Linked DNA regions of Homo sapiens: region 1 is linked to region 2. The links are contacts of gene promoters, found by promoter capture Hi-C in human tissues and cell types (Jung and others, 2019). All regions are on one chromosome and are shown on one strand. The core of a region is centred on a gene start or on the middle of the fragment in contact, and the rest is flanking DNA. Distances in the headings are between cores, read along the strand shown. Region 1 overlaps SASS6 (SAS-6 centriolar assembly protein). Region 2 holds the start of SLC35A3 (solute carrier family 35 member A3).

Evidence for each region. The method cuts DNA at HindIII sites, captures the fragments that hold promoters and counts their contacts. A contact is called where the count stands out against the background at its distance.
Region 1: a fragment that was not itself captured here is called in contact with the fragment with the promoter of SLC35A3 in region 2 in 1 of the 25 tissues and cell types used here (hippocampus).

The regions. Positions count from the first base shown.
Region 1 is chr1:100,123,750-100,130,725 of GRCh38, forward strand. It overlaps SASS6 (SAS-6 centriolar assembly protein), which reads right to left. Exons shown (of 17, transcript NM_194292.3): 2 at 2,133-2,193. Among named protein-coding and RNA genes, the nearest start is that of SASS6, 5.7 kb to the right of the region's middle. The HindIII fragment of the contact is 5,984 bases long and covers 798-6,781 here.
Region 2 is chr1:99,965,281-99,972,157 of GRCh38, forward strand. SLC35A3 (solute carrier family 35 member A3) reads left to right here and starts at 4,716. Exons shown (of 8, transcript NM_012243.3): 1 at 4,716-4,882. All of the region lies in intron 1 of LOC124904230 (a long non-coding RNA gene), which reads right to left. RefSeq lists enhancers at 4,196-4,245, 4,306-4,355, 5,076-5,165 and a silencer at 4,756-4,955. The HindIII fragment of the contact is 9,355 bases long and covers 1-6,877 here.

The DNA of each region.
Region 1 (6,976 bases), core at 2,540-5,039, 160 kb after region 2:
CAGAAGACCAGGGTATCAGGTAACACGTTGCCAGGCTTCTTCCAAAGAGCCTATTCTCTCCTAGGCCAGGTGGCCACTGATATGGAAGCCCAACTGTTTTCAGTCTCAAATGAAGTAAGTACCTTTCATAAAGATCACTTTCCAGGTAGCTACGTGTACATAGTGTGGGAGACCATCATAACAGCTAGAGCTCACAAAAAGTACACCAAAATTATGTACCAGAGAACACTGGTGAAAGAAAAACAGCATTAGTTACAAGATGATGTAAAACTAATAAAGAACTGGGCATTAAGGTTAAGAATTCATTTGAAATAAAATCTCTACTCATGTCTACTGAGGAAATGCTAAGATCCTAGAAAAATCTAAACCACTTATGCACCAAGCTAGAAAATGAAGAGGTACAGCAGGCATAAGGAATAACATGTAAGAAGTATAATATATCATCTCTACTCTGGAAAATTAGTAATTTAGGCACCTGCTCTGCCTCAGAATGCCTTGTTCTTAAGCAGCTTCTATTTAAGTACTTCCTGAAATTCACCCAGGATGCTACTTAAAAAACCAAAGGTACTATTAATACTACTAGGTCCTTGAATGTGTTCAGGGAAAGCTATGGCACACAGAAAACAGATGCTATATTTCAGTGTTTTTTGACATGGGGTCTCGCTCTGTCGCCCAGTCTAGGTTGCAGTGGCACCCTCACAGCTCACTGCAGCCTCAACCTCCCAGTCTCAAGTGATCCTTCCACCTCAGCCTCTCAAGTAGATGGAACTACAGGAGTGTGCCACCACATTCAGCTAATTTGTGTATTTTTTTGTAGAGATGGGATTTCACCATGTTGCCTACACTGGTTTCAAACTCCTGGCTCAAGCAATCTGCCTACTTCAGCCTCCCAAAGTGCTGGGATTACAGGTGTGAGGCACTGCCCTTGGCACAGATGCCGTATTTCTTAGTTCTCTGTTCCAGTGGCCCCCAACCTTTTTGGCACTAGAAACCAGTTTTGTAGAAGACATTTTTCCAAGAATTAGGGAGTGAAGGATGGTTTCAGGATGAAACTTCCACCTCAGATCAGCCATTAGATTCTCATAAGGAGCATACAGCTGAGATCCCTTGCATGTACAGTTCACAATAGGGTTTGCACTCCTATGAGACTCTAATGCCACCACTGATCTGACAGGAGGTGGATCGTAGGAGGTTACACTCGCTTCCCTGCCTGCCACTCACCTCCTGCTGTGCAGCCTGGCTCCTAACAGGCCACAGACCGTACCAGTAAGTGGCCAGGGGGTTGGGGACCCCTCCTCTATTCTATATCCTTAGTTCTGTTAATGACTCACACTTTTGAAGGTTATATGAGACTGATACTCTAAATGCCTCTCTTCAAAACGTAAAGTAAAAGATTCACAAATATCTCCCTGCAGTACTTCGGTTTATTGTTTTTACATTTATACCATGAAATGCCAATTCTACAAGGCAGCAGTGTGTGTGTGTGTGTGTGTGTGTGTGTGTGTATGACCAACAGCAATAAAATATATTTTTATATATATGTTATTATATATATATAATATGCAACTTCTAAGTGCACTGGGCAAATCTAAGGAGAATGTCACCCCACCCCACAATTTTTCACGTATGTTTTAGAAATATATGGTATAGGCCGGGCACAGTGGTTCAAGCCTGTAATCTCAGCACTTTGGGAGGCCGAGGTGGGCAGATCACAAGGTCAAGAGATCGAGACCATCCTGGCCAACATGGTGAAACCCCGTCTCTACTAAAAATACAAAAATTAGCTGGGCGTGGTGGTGCATGCCTGTAGTCCCAGCTACTTGGGAGGCTGAGGCAGGAGAATTGTTTGAACCCGGGAGGTGAGTGAGCCGAGATCGTGCCACTGCACTCCAGCCTGGTGACAGAGCAAGACTCCATCTCAAAAAAAAAAAAAAAAAAAAGAAATATATAGTATAATTATCCTTCAGTTGTTGTCTCAGTAGATTCCACCACCCTTGATTTCCAACAGTTGCAAAATAGCCTAAAATGTAAAAGCAAAATAAATGCAATAAAAGATGTCACATTCTTAAAGAACAAAACTAATTGTCTACAATGTACCGAAATGATATTTCAAAAAAGGACTAAATACCAACCTTTCTGTGAACTGGATTAGAAACTGATTGTAGTTCAATGCTCATTCTTATACTTACTCTCCTGTAGGAAAAGACATACCCAACCATCAGAAACATTCACACGAAATGAGTTATCACTATCATTTGTATTAAGTTTTCAGTCTTAAGTGACAAGACTTTCCACAGGTGTTCTCTAACTTATGAACAGAAGTTTGAAAAGCACACCGGATTTGAAGCTTAATTTCTTCTTGTTCCACTAGTGAGTAATCTAGCAGTGTTTAACCTAAAACTAAATTTTTCTCACCTGTAAAATGGGGATATCGTGAGGATTAAATGAAATAAACACTGTGGAGTGCCTAGCACTAGCCTGATATATGACTTTGCGGCCCTGATTGTAAAGTAACATCTATTGAAAGACAAACCATCAATTTAGTAACTTTTCAACTGTAAAATGGGGATGTTTTGAGGATTAAATGAGGTAAGAACCTCATATACCCTTACTGCCCTGATTCTAAAATAACATCTAGAAAGACAAACCACCAATTTAGTAACAACTTTTCACATTAAAAAATTACCATGTCATGTAATCAAACTGATTAATGAGAGACTGATTGCATTTTAAAAACTTAGTATGTGGCCCGTCGCAGTGGCTCACACCTGTAATCCTGGCACTTTGGGTGGCTGAAGCAGGCAGATCACTTGAGGTCAAGAGTTGGAGACCAGCCTGTTAACACGGCAAAACCTCATCTCTACAAAAAATACAAAAACAAGCCAGGCGTGGTGGCACCCACCTGTAGTCCCAGCTATTTGGGAGGCTGAGGTTGGAGAAATGCGGAACCTGGTAGGCAGAGGCTGCAGTGAGCCAATACTGCACCACTGCACACCAGCCTGGGCAACAGAGACCCTGTCTCAAAAAATAAAATAAAATAAAATAAAAACTTAATATGTGAAGCGATATTAGAATGCTTTGAATGTTTAAAATCAAGGAAATAACATATTCCCTACATTTATTCATACAAAAACGTATTTTCACATCCACGAATTAAATCTGCTTAATATATTCTTTATGTAATAAAACCACAGAAGTATTATCAACAAGTTTATTACACCTATTTTATCCTTGAGTAAAGTAACTTTAAGCCCTGAGAGGGAGAGACCACAGTGTTCCACATCCTATGCTGTATCTTAGAGAATCCAGAATTGGACAGAGGTATATAGGTGAAAGTGCTCATAAACATTAATCAAATAGAGCACAAATGCTTATATAATTCAGAAAATAAAGGGAGAAATTAGTAAAAAATACCTATGCACAAGTACTTCTCAAACTATTCTGCCAGAATTAAATAACAATGGCCTTTCTTTGATGTGCAGGTAGAAAAAAGTAAACTAACAAATAGAATTTGTTCAATTTTAAGTTTTTCTTCTAAGGACTTCTTTTAAACCTTTTCCACACTATTGCTTATCTACTACACAAGTAAAAAGTATAAACAGCAATTGAGTACTGATAGGAAAACTTGGAAACAGTTGATCAAGGCTAGATTCAATTGTTTAGATTTTTTAATGCTGACTTGTAATTTTATATGGGTTTAAAATGTGTCATTTTAGTTAAGTTTCTTGTTGAACATATGATTGGATGCTAAATCTCCGTTTGTACAATAAGGTTAAATGTTACCTCATAACTTGTATCTGTTTTCTGAAAAGGAACAAGAAGCACTGGTTTACACCAGAGAGAGGAAGAATTATTTTCAAAACAAGAGAATACACTGTTGCTATTTTTCTAGTATCTAAAGCAACATATGTGAAACAGATTAGAGTGTTACTCCAATTCCATTTAAGCTTTCCTGAGCTGGGCACAGTGCCTCCCACCTGTAGTGCTGGCTACTTCAGAGGCTGAGGCAGGAGGATAGCTTGAGCCCAGGGGTTCAAGTCCAGTCTGGGCAACACAGCAAGATTAAGCTTTCGTGGTGGGGTGGGGGAGGGGGGGACTCAGTTTCCGAACTTGTAAGATAAGTGGATTCAACTAGAAGGTTTGTGAAAACCTTTTTAGCTCTACATCATTATGTTTGGTTTTCATCTTCTGAAGTTTTCTCTAGTATAAATGCCATAGTGGTATGATACTGCAGTTGGTATTTAACTTTTTATGGTGCTTTACAGTTTATTTTTATTTTAATTATTTATTTATTTATTTATTTTTGAGACAGAGTTTCGCTCTGTCACCCAGTCTGGAGTGCAATGGTGCGATCTTGGCTCACTGCAACCTCCGCCTCCCAGGTTCAAACGATTCTCCTGCCTCAGTCTCCTGAGTAGCTGAGTTTACAGGGGCACAACACCACACCTGGCTAATTTTCGTATTTTTAGTAGAGATGGGGTTTCACCATGTTGGCCAGACTGGTCTCAAACTCCTGACCTCAAGTGATCTGCCCACCTCAGCCTCCCAAAGTGATAGCAGTACAGGCGTGGGCCACTGCACCTAGACGGTGTTTTACGGTTTTAAAAGTCCTGTCATACTTCATATATTTGCAAAAAGTACAAGAAGAATTCACTTATCAAAGTGTTCTTTACATAATCCTGGAAGAGTTATATTACTATGACAATTTACCAATCATATTAATGATATTGTTGCATATATTCCAAATGCCTATATACATTAGATGTTGAAAGAAAAAACGGAAGGCCTGTAAGTTAAACGAATTCCCCATGCTTAGTTAAAAAACATCCCTAGAAATATGCTGTAGAAAAATACAAGCTTTCAGAGGATACGCTAACTAAAATCACAAATCTTATTTTTTCCCTTATAATGGTTAATGTCATAAGAGCAATATAAAACAATAAAAACTCAATAAAATGTTATTTCTCATCTCAATAGATGTCGTACTCAATAGATGTCTAATACTAATGACATTAGATTTAGTTATGAGTTCTTCTAAATAAAAAGTATTCTAAACATCAGGCTTGCTTTAGCACAACTGGATTCTAGGCCATCTCTGACACCCAGTAGCTGTGCTCTTAAACTATCAATCAAACAAATAAAAGGTACTTTAAGCCAGGTATTGTGCCAGGTGCTAGGGATACAAACAGAAATAAACATGGTCCAGGGGCTTGGCACAGTGGCTCACATCTGTAATCCCAGCACTTTGGGAGGCTGAGGTGGGTGGATCACCTGAGGCCAAGAGTTCAAGACCAGCATGGGCAACATAGCAAAATCCTATCTCTACAAAAAATTTATAAAATGAGCCAGGCATGGTGGTGCATGCCTGTAGTTTCATGTACTCTGGAAGCTGAAGCAGGAGAGCTTAAGACCAAGAGTTTGAGATTACAGTAAGCCATGATTATGACACAACACTCTAGCCTGGGCAACAGAGTGACAGCCTCTCTCTAAAAAAAAAAAAATAATAATTTTTGAACATAGGATGACACAAACAAAACAAAACAAAAAAAACCATGGTCTCTGTCCTCAAATTGAGATGAGATTAATGACTTTTTGCTAGATTTGCTTCTGATTGCATTTTAGGGCTCCATGAGAGGGGAGGGAAGGGTTACCAACACTACTGAGTACCTGCCAGGTATTCTACATATATCATCTTATTTAACAATAATCTTGATAAGTAAATATTATTTATTTTACAAAAGAAGAACTTAAGGCCCAAATAATGGTTTAAGGTCACATTACAGAGCCCAAATGAAAACTCAGATCTTTCACCTACACCACACTATCTAATAACTGAATAATGGCAATTCATTTCAACTTAGGCAACTTTGAAGGGTCCTTATAGTGAAAGGATTTAAGACATACCTGAAAGTTATGAAAGAAAAAAGCATTTGAGGCACAAGGAACAGCAGGGGTAATAGTATAGAATGAGTATCAGGTATATTCAGAAGGTAACAAGAATGCTTGTATGACTTTCATATTGGAGAGATAAGCTTAGGAAACAAAACTGAAAAGGCAGATTAGTGTCAAATCATGGGTTCCAAAATTTTGCATAATTTTCCACCAGATGAAGTTCCCTGATCATTACCACTGTCCTCAACTGAATTTCCTTCTTCTCTGACTTTAGTGTACTTATATTACTTTATGCATTTGTCACACATTAATACCTAAAATTTAGTGAACATTTATTATGCTCTAGTCACTGTTGTAAGCAGTTCATATGTATAATTCATTCCATTCTCATAATACCATGAAGTAGGTACTGTTATTACCATCAACTTAAAGATGAGACACAGAGAAGGAAATTGTACAAGATCTGTCAGTAAGTGGAAGAACTGGGACTTAAACCCAGGCAATCTGGCTCCAGAGCCTGAACTCCTAATCTGTGCTATGGTGCCTGTTCAAGGAAAATCTTATTTCCCCTATTAAAATGTGAGTTCCTTGAGGGACAGAATGAAAAGAGGTTTTTGTTGGCTTTTGTTGTTGTTGGGGACGGAGAGGGGGGTGCGTATTTACATCCTCCACACTTAGGACAGTTCCTGAGACACAGCAGACATTTGCCAGTATTTGTTGAGCTGAACTGGCCTCAAATACTCAACCAAGGCGTCTGGGCTGGGCGTGGTGGCTCACGCCTATAATCCCCGAATTTTGGGAGGCTGGGGTGAGAGGATCACTTGAGCCCAGGTGTTCAAGACCAGCCTGGGCAATACAGGGAGACCCCGTCTCTTTTAAATTAAATTAACAACAAAAAAAAGCCAGGCGTGGTGGTATGCGCCTGTAATTGCAGCTACTCAGGAGGCTAAGGTGAGGGGAACCCTTGGGCCCAGGAGGTCAAGGCTGCAGTGAGCTGTAATCGTGCTACAATACTCCAGTCTGGGCAACAGAGCGAGACTCTGTCTAGAAAAAAAAAAAAAAAGAGAGAGAGAAAGAGAGAGAG
Region 2 (6,877 bases), core at 3,466-5,965:
GGTAACTGTGCTAGATACAGGAGAATCCCCAAGGCTTTAATTTATATTTAACCCTGACTCTGAGATGAAACCAATTCATTGATTCTCAAATAGACTTTAGAGCATCAAGTGATAACTGAAGCTTTGATCAACAAGCCCCATAGGGTAGCAATCATGCAGGGTAGCTTCTCCAGTTTCCGAATGTACAGAGGGAGGAAAGGGCCTCATCTCCCTGAAATCTCCTCCTGGGCCCCTGACTCGAAGAATAAGTCTACTATAGGAAAAAACCAGAAGCCACTGAAATACTCTTCCTCAGAAATGAAAAGTAAGTTTTATTTCAAACCTATCAGATCCATGTTCTAGAGAATGTTAAACTCTACAGATCCATCTCAGAATCAAAGGACCATATTCATATTGACAGTTAAGCTCTTATAATGGAAGTAACCTCATTCAACTCTTCTTAGAAGTAAATGATGGACAAGTAGATAATCTTTGGCAATCCTTTCCAGTTTTGTTTACACATAGGTTTCTTTTTCCCCCTGAAGAACTAACAAGAAAAAGCCAGATTCAATTACTATGATTTGGCAGCTTGAAACAACAAACTGGTTTTTCCTGCTCCTGAGCTGAAATTTCAATTAAATAGTTTTAAAAGCTATGATGGCATAGGAACAAAATATTTGTCAAGTGACACCTGGAAACCTGCAGCTTAATTCTCTAAGCACTGAAATTTTTTTCAATATTTTAACCATTTTGAGCAGAAATTCCTTAAAAATGTCTATCAACATAGTCCCTGCCCTCTTTCTTTCTTGTTTGTTGTCTTTTCATTATTTTCTCCTGGGTTTTCTAACAACGTCTGACCTTTATCCATTAAAGTCTACCAGCTTGGCACTGTCTGAAGATATTGATCTAGAGAATGTCATTTTGTGTGCATAATGTTTGCAGCGTCAACTGCACTAAACATAATTTGATCTGGCCTTAATTTCTCTGGGGCATCATAGGGAATCCCAGTTATTGTACAATATCATAATGCACTCATGCCTTCAATAGGGTTGCCACATTTAGCAAATAAAATTACAGGACATCCAGTTAAATTAGAATTTCTGATAATCAATGAATTTTTTAAAGTATATCCGAAATATTCCATACTTCGTTGCTTATTTGAAATTTAAATTTAACAAGGCTTCTGTTTTTTTTTTTTTTTTTTTTTTTTTTTTTGAGACAGAGTTTACCCTCTTGTTGCCCAGGCTAGAGTGCAATGGTGCAATCCTTGGCTCACCGCAACCTCTGCCTCCCGGGTTTAAGCAATTCTCCTGCCTCAGCCTCCTGAGTAGCTGGGATTACAGGCATGTGCCACCACGCCCCGCTAATTTTTTGTATTTTTAGGAGAGACGGGGTTTCTCCATGTTGGTTAGGCTGGTCTCGAACTCCCAAACTCAGGTGATCTGCCTGCCTCGGCCTCCCAAAGTGCTGGGATTACAGGCGTGAGCCACTGCGCCAGGCGAAGGCCTCTATTTTATCCGACAATTCTAATTAGGTACCACTGAGACACATAGTCCTATTTGGCCCTGGCTGCCTTTAGACTATTATCTTTTTCTCATTTGAAAGAGCTGCAGACCTTGGGTACTGATTTGAATTGTTGGATGTCCAGACTTGCAGTTCAGGCTCAGCTGACATTCTTGCCCTGGTGAGCTTCTGTACCTTCCTCTTCGCCCTCTGAAGGTTGGCTGAATAATCAACTGACAAAAGTCAGATTAATAAGAGAAGAGGCAGGCTGGGCACGGTGGTTCATGCCTGTAATCCCAATACAATGGGAGGCTGAGGCAAGAAGATCACTGGAGCTCAGGAGTTTGAGACCAGCCTGCATAAAATAGTGGGAACCCATCTCTATTAAAAGTAAAAAAAAATTAGCCAGGTATGGTGGCATGTGCCTATAGTCCCAGCTACTCAGGAGGCTGAGGCAGGAGGGTTGCTTAAGTGGGAGGCTGAGGCAGGAGGACCTTGGAGGTCAAGGCTACAGTGAGCCATGATCATGCGACTGCACTCCTTCTAGAGAGAGACCCTAACTAAAAAAAAAATAAATAAAAAAAAAAGAAAGAAAAGAAAAAAGGCATAGAAATTTATTAGTGTACATGAGGAGAAATCACAGGGTGATTACTCTTATCCCCCATGTAGTACAGAAGGGTATACCATCTTTACAAAGAATGAGAGCTCCAAGCATGGCCAAAAATAGATTATGGTGGTAAATCAGGTTATAGTGGCAAAACAAGTTACGGGAGGGACAGAAGCAGAGGCCTGACTAACAAAGGTGGGTAGCAGCCCTCAGAGAGAATAGATGGTGGAAGTTTCTTTCAGACCTTTAAAAGTGTCAGAATCTCAGTAAATCTTTCCTAGATCTGGACAAGGAAGGGCCTCAGAGAAAGCCTGGCTACATTAATGCAGATTCTCCACAGATGCAAATCTGCCCTACAAGAGACAGTTTTGCAGGGCTACTGGGCTACTTTTTTTTTTTTTTTTTTTTTGAGACAGGGTCTTGCTCTATCAGCCAGGCTGGAGTACAGTAGCATGATCATGGCTTAATGTGGCCTTGAACTCCTGGGATCAAGTGATCGTCCCACCTCAGCCTCCCTCATGAGTAGCTAGGACTAAAGGCATGTACCATTATGACTGGTACATGTTTAAATTTTTATTTTTTGTAGTGATGGGATCTCAATATGTTGCTCAGGCTGGTCGCGATCTCCTGGGCTCAAGCAATCCGCTGGCCTCAGCCTCCCAAAGTCTTGGGATTACAAGCGTGAGCCACCACATCTGGCCTGCAAAGGCTACTTCTGATTGCAGGCCCTCTAAACAGTCATCTCAAAATATGTCAAAGTAGTATATTTTGGGGTAAAATATTTTGATTTCCTTCAAAGCCATTGTAGGGTTAATAATTGGCCTAATTTCAATATTGCTGTTTATTGGGAAATAGGGAGGCCCAAGGGGGAGAAGTGTGGGGAAATGGGCAGTTGGTGGAGTAGTCAGAACACACATAACATTTATTAATTAAGTTTGCCTTTCTATATGAGTGCAGTACATGGCACCTGTATTAGTCCATTTTCATGGTGCTGATAAAGACATACCCGAGACTGGGAAGAAAAAGAAGTTTAATTGGACCTACAGTTCCACATGGCGGGGGAGGCCTCAGAATCATGGCGGGAGGTGAAAGGTACTTGCTTACATGGCTGCAGCAAGAGAAAAATGAGGAAGAAGCAAAATCAGAAACCCCAGATAAACCCATCGGATTTCATGAGACTTATTCACTATCATGAGAATAGCACAGGAAAGACTGGCCCCCATGATTCAATTATCTCCCCCTAGGTCTCTCCCTCAACACGTGGGAATTCTGGGAGATACAGTTCAAGTTGAGATTTGGGTGGGGACACAGCCAAACCATATCAGCACCCCAAAACAATTACCATAGTAACATCAAAGATCATTGATCACAAAGCACTATACCAGATATAATAATGATGAACAAATTTAAATATTGCAAAAATTATTGAATATTATGTGACACAGAGACACAAAGTGAGCACATGCTGTTGGAAAAATGGCACCAATAGATGTGCTTGAGGCAAGGTTGCCACAAACCTTCAATTTGTAAAAAAAAAAAACAAAAAAACAAAAGCAATGTCTGTGAAGAGCAATAAAGCAAATCACAATAAAACGAGGCATGCTGTTATCATCATCTAACAGGCACATTTTGGTTTCAAAAAAAACTGGGCATGTATTAAGATCTAATATGTATTTTACCATCCAGGAATTTTCTCAAGACTGTATTGCAGAAAATTTTAAAACCAGTTATTCTACTCTAATACAGTTACTTATTTTTCTTCAATATCACTTTTTTTCTAAGTATGTCTCTCTTGGACATGGTTTTAATCATTTGCAATATAAAGAGACATAGGCTTAATTTATAGCAGCCCTGAGTTAACAAAAAGAGATAATCCTATTCGCTTATTTGATAATCCAGCTGAACCTGAAGTACTGATTTCAGCCTGTTCATCACCTGAATGGGCTGCCGTGGTTAGAGGGTTTCCAACACAGCTACTGGAACACTTTTAAAAGGTAATGCTGTGATCCATGCAGCCAGGAAGGGGTTGGTCCCTCATAACTCTGCAATCCTCTGGGCCCAGTTTTCTTTTTCCTCTCCCGGTTGATGACACTAGGCCCATTGGTGGTACGGCTTTGGGTTTCCTTCAGTCTCAAGATCTCAGTCAGGGTGGGTGAAGTGGAAGAACAAGCCTTCTTGCAGACCACTGGTTGGTTGGCAGCCTTTGCCATAGCTAATCTGGTTGTTTTCAGGTCAGTGACAGTCACTTTTAGGAGAGGGTTCGTTTGCTTTCAAAATCCATCTCCCCGTTCCTCTCAGGGTTCTTTGCCCCAAAGGACTTTGCCCTTCCTTACGCAGTGGACACCTTGGCACCCTCTGCAAACAGACAGTCCCGCAGAGGCCCTCGACGAGTGTCACTCCATCTGTTTCGCGCTCCTAGGAGAGGTGTAGCAGAAAGCAGTGCCCCAGGCCTCCACGCGACGGTGAAGCAGGAACCAGGGGCTGCCAGCAGAGCAGCCCAGGTGCGTCGCCTTAGGGACAGAGCTGCCAAGTGCCGAGCTGGGGCTGCCAGAGCCGAGCCGGGAACGGCATTTGCCAGAGCCGAGGCGGAAGCCGGAGCATTTGGGGGACGGGACCGCGGGAACCCGGAAACGCCTGGGCTGCACCGAGCTGGCGGTGGCTACGGCGACGGGAGCCGGCGGCGCTGCGGGTCAGCGGTCGCGTAGGACCCAGCGGACTCGGCAGCCTGGGGCGCCCGGCGGAGCTGAACCGCGGCCCCCGGTGGTGGGCTCAGCCGGTCGAGCTGCGCGGGAGGTGAGTCCTCAGCGCACCTGGGGAGGGGCGGGAACCAGGAGGCTAGCGGCTGCGGGGCGGCCCGGGAAGCTCCTGGAGGAGGAGGAAGAGGAGGCATGCGAGGGGGCTGATGTGAAGTCTGTAGGGGTGAAGGGGACGGTATCGAAGACCTGAAATACAGTGCTAGCTAAGTAGGGGTGGGAGCAGATGAGGTGACACGTTGTAACTCCGACGGACGACGTGCGGAATGTACTGGGTGGAGGAGGAAAAAAGGCCCGAGGAGAGGGGTGTGTCAAGCGAATGAAGACGGCAGTGTGTGCCTCAGCGCCTGGTGCGTGCGGAGCTAGTGACGGGTGGGCCCGGCTGGGGCCCGTCATTCCTTCAGTGAACATCCCATGAGCTCTCGCTCGGTGTTGAGCCCTGTGGTAGGCACAGATGCACCCGACCAGCACCTGGAGCTCAAGAAGCCGCAGGAACTTAAAGAAATGGAAAGGCTGCCCTTGGTAAGGCTAGTAAGAACACAAGGACTGTTTGAAGTGGGGTGAGATTCTCATCAGAACAGGTGTGTGGGTGCATTGCTTTATAGTAAAAGACGATCTTTTATTATGTTCTCTTAAATGCAGTATTTGAAAATTAAGTCTTTTCGTTTTTGAAATCAACATTCGACTTTAGTAGTTAAAGATGAAATTTGGTGCAGTTTCTTACTTGGTGTTCTTATTCACTTTCACTGGTAAACTCAGGGTGTTTCAAGGGAATGACTTGTAAACTTATATTTCTGAGGCTAACTTTCCTCCCAACTGTTGATTCTATCTCTTCAGCATCTCAAATTTAGTTCTCCCCTTTTTCATTCCCACTACCTGTCTGCTAAATATGCTCGTCTTTCCTCTTCTTACTTGCACTATAGCAATAACTTCCAAACTGGACTTGTCCTCAGCCTGGCACCCTTCCAGTCACTTGCCTCCATATTACTTTTAAAGCCAAAGATCTTATGACTTTCTTTTTTTGGTTATTCCTTCCTCAGAAATACGCAGTGACTCTCGATCGGCTTCAGAATAAAATGTAAATTATTTAGGGAGGCATTTAATAAATTTTATATTATTTAGGGAGGCTTCAGATTTTTCCTTCAGAATTTGAGTCTGACGGTGGCTCCAGTAAAATCAATATGATTCTTTTTTTTTTTTTTTAGACGGAGTCTCGCTCTGTCGCCCAGGCTGGAGTGCAGTGGCGCAATCTCAGCTCACTGCAAGCTCCGCCTCCCGGGTTCATGCCGTTCTCCTGCCTCAGCCTCCTGAGTAGCTGGGACTACAGGCGCCCGCCGCCACGCCCGGCTAATTTTTTTGTATTTTTAATAGAGACGGGGTTTCACCATGTTAGCCAGGATGGTCTCGATCTCCTGACCTCGTGATCCACCCACCTCGGCCTCTCAAAGTGCTGGGATTACAGGCGTGAGCCACCGCACCCGGCCCCCAATATGATTCTTTCTTTTTTCCTTTTATTAAACAAGTATTACTTTTTTCCACATATCCTATTTTTTAGCCAAACTAGTCGTTAATTAGACGTCCAGTTTCTGAACATGCTATATGCCTGTCAGCCTTGGTGTTTGCTTTTATCATTTCTTCCTACAAAGAAGAAACAAGGAAGGCCTTCCTTGCTGTCTTTGTAGAAATTCTACTTATTCTTCAATTCCTTAAATGCCATCTCTTTCTTATGCAGCTTTCTGAAATCTGCCATAAATCCAGTTCATTCTTTTTTTCTTTTTCTTTTTCTCTTTTTTTGAGAGAGTTTTGCTCTTGTTGCCCAGGCTGGAGTTCAATGTTGCGATCTCGGCTCACTGCAACCTCCGTCTCCCGGGTTCAAGCGATTCTCCTGCCTCAGCCTCCTGAAGTAGCTGGGATTACAGGTGCCCGCCACCACACCCAGCCAATTTTTTTGTAGTTTTAGTTGAGACGGGGTTTCACCATGTTGGCCAGGCTGGTCTTGAACTCCTGACCTCAGGTGATCCACCTGCCTCGACAT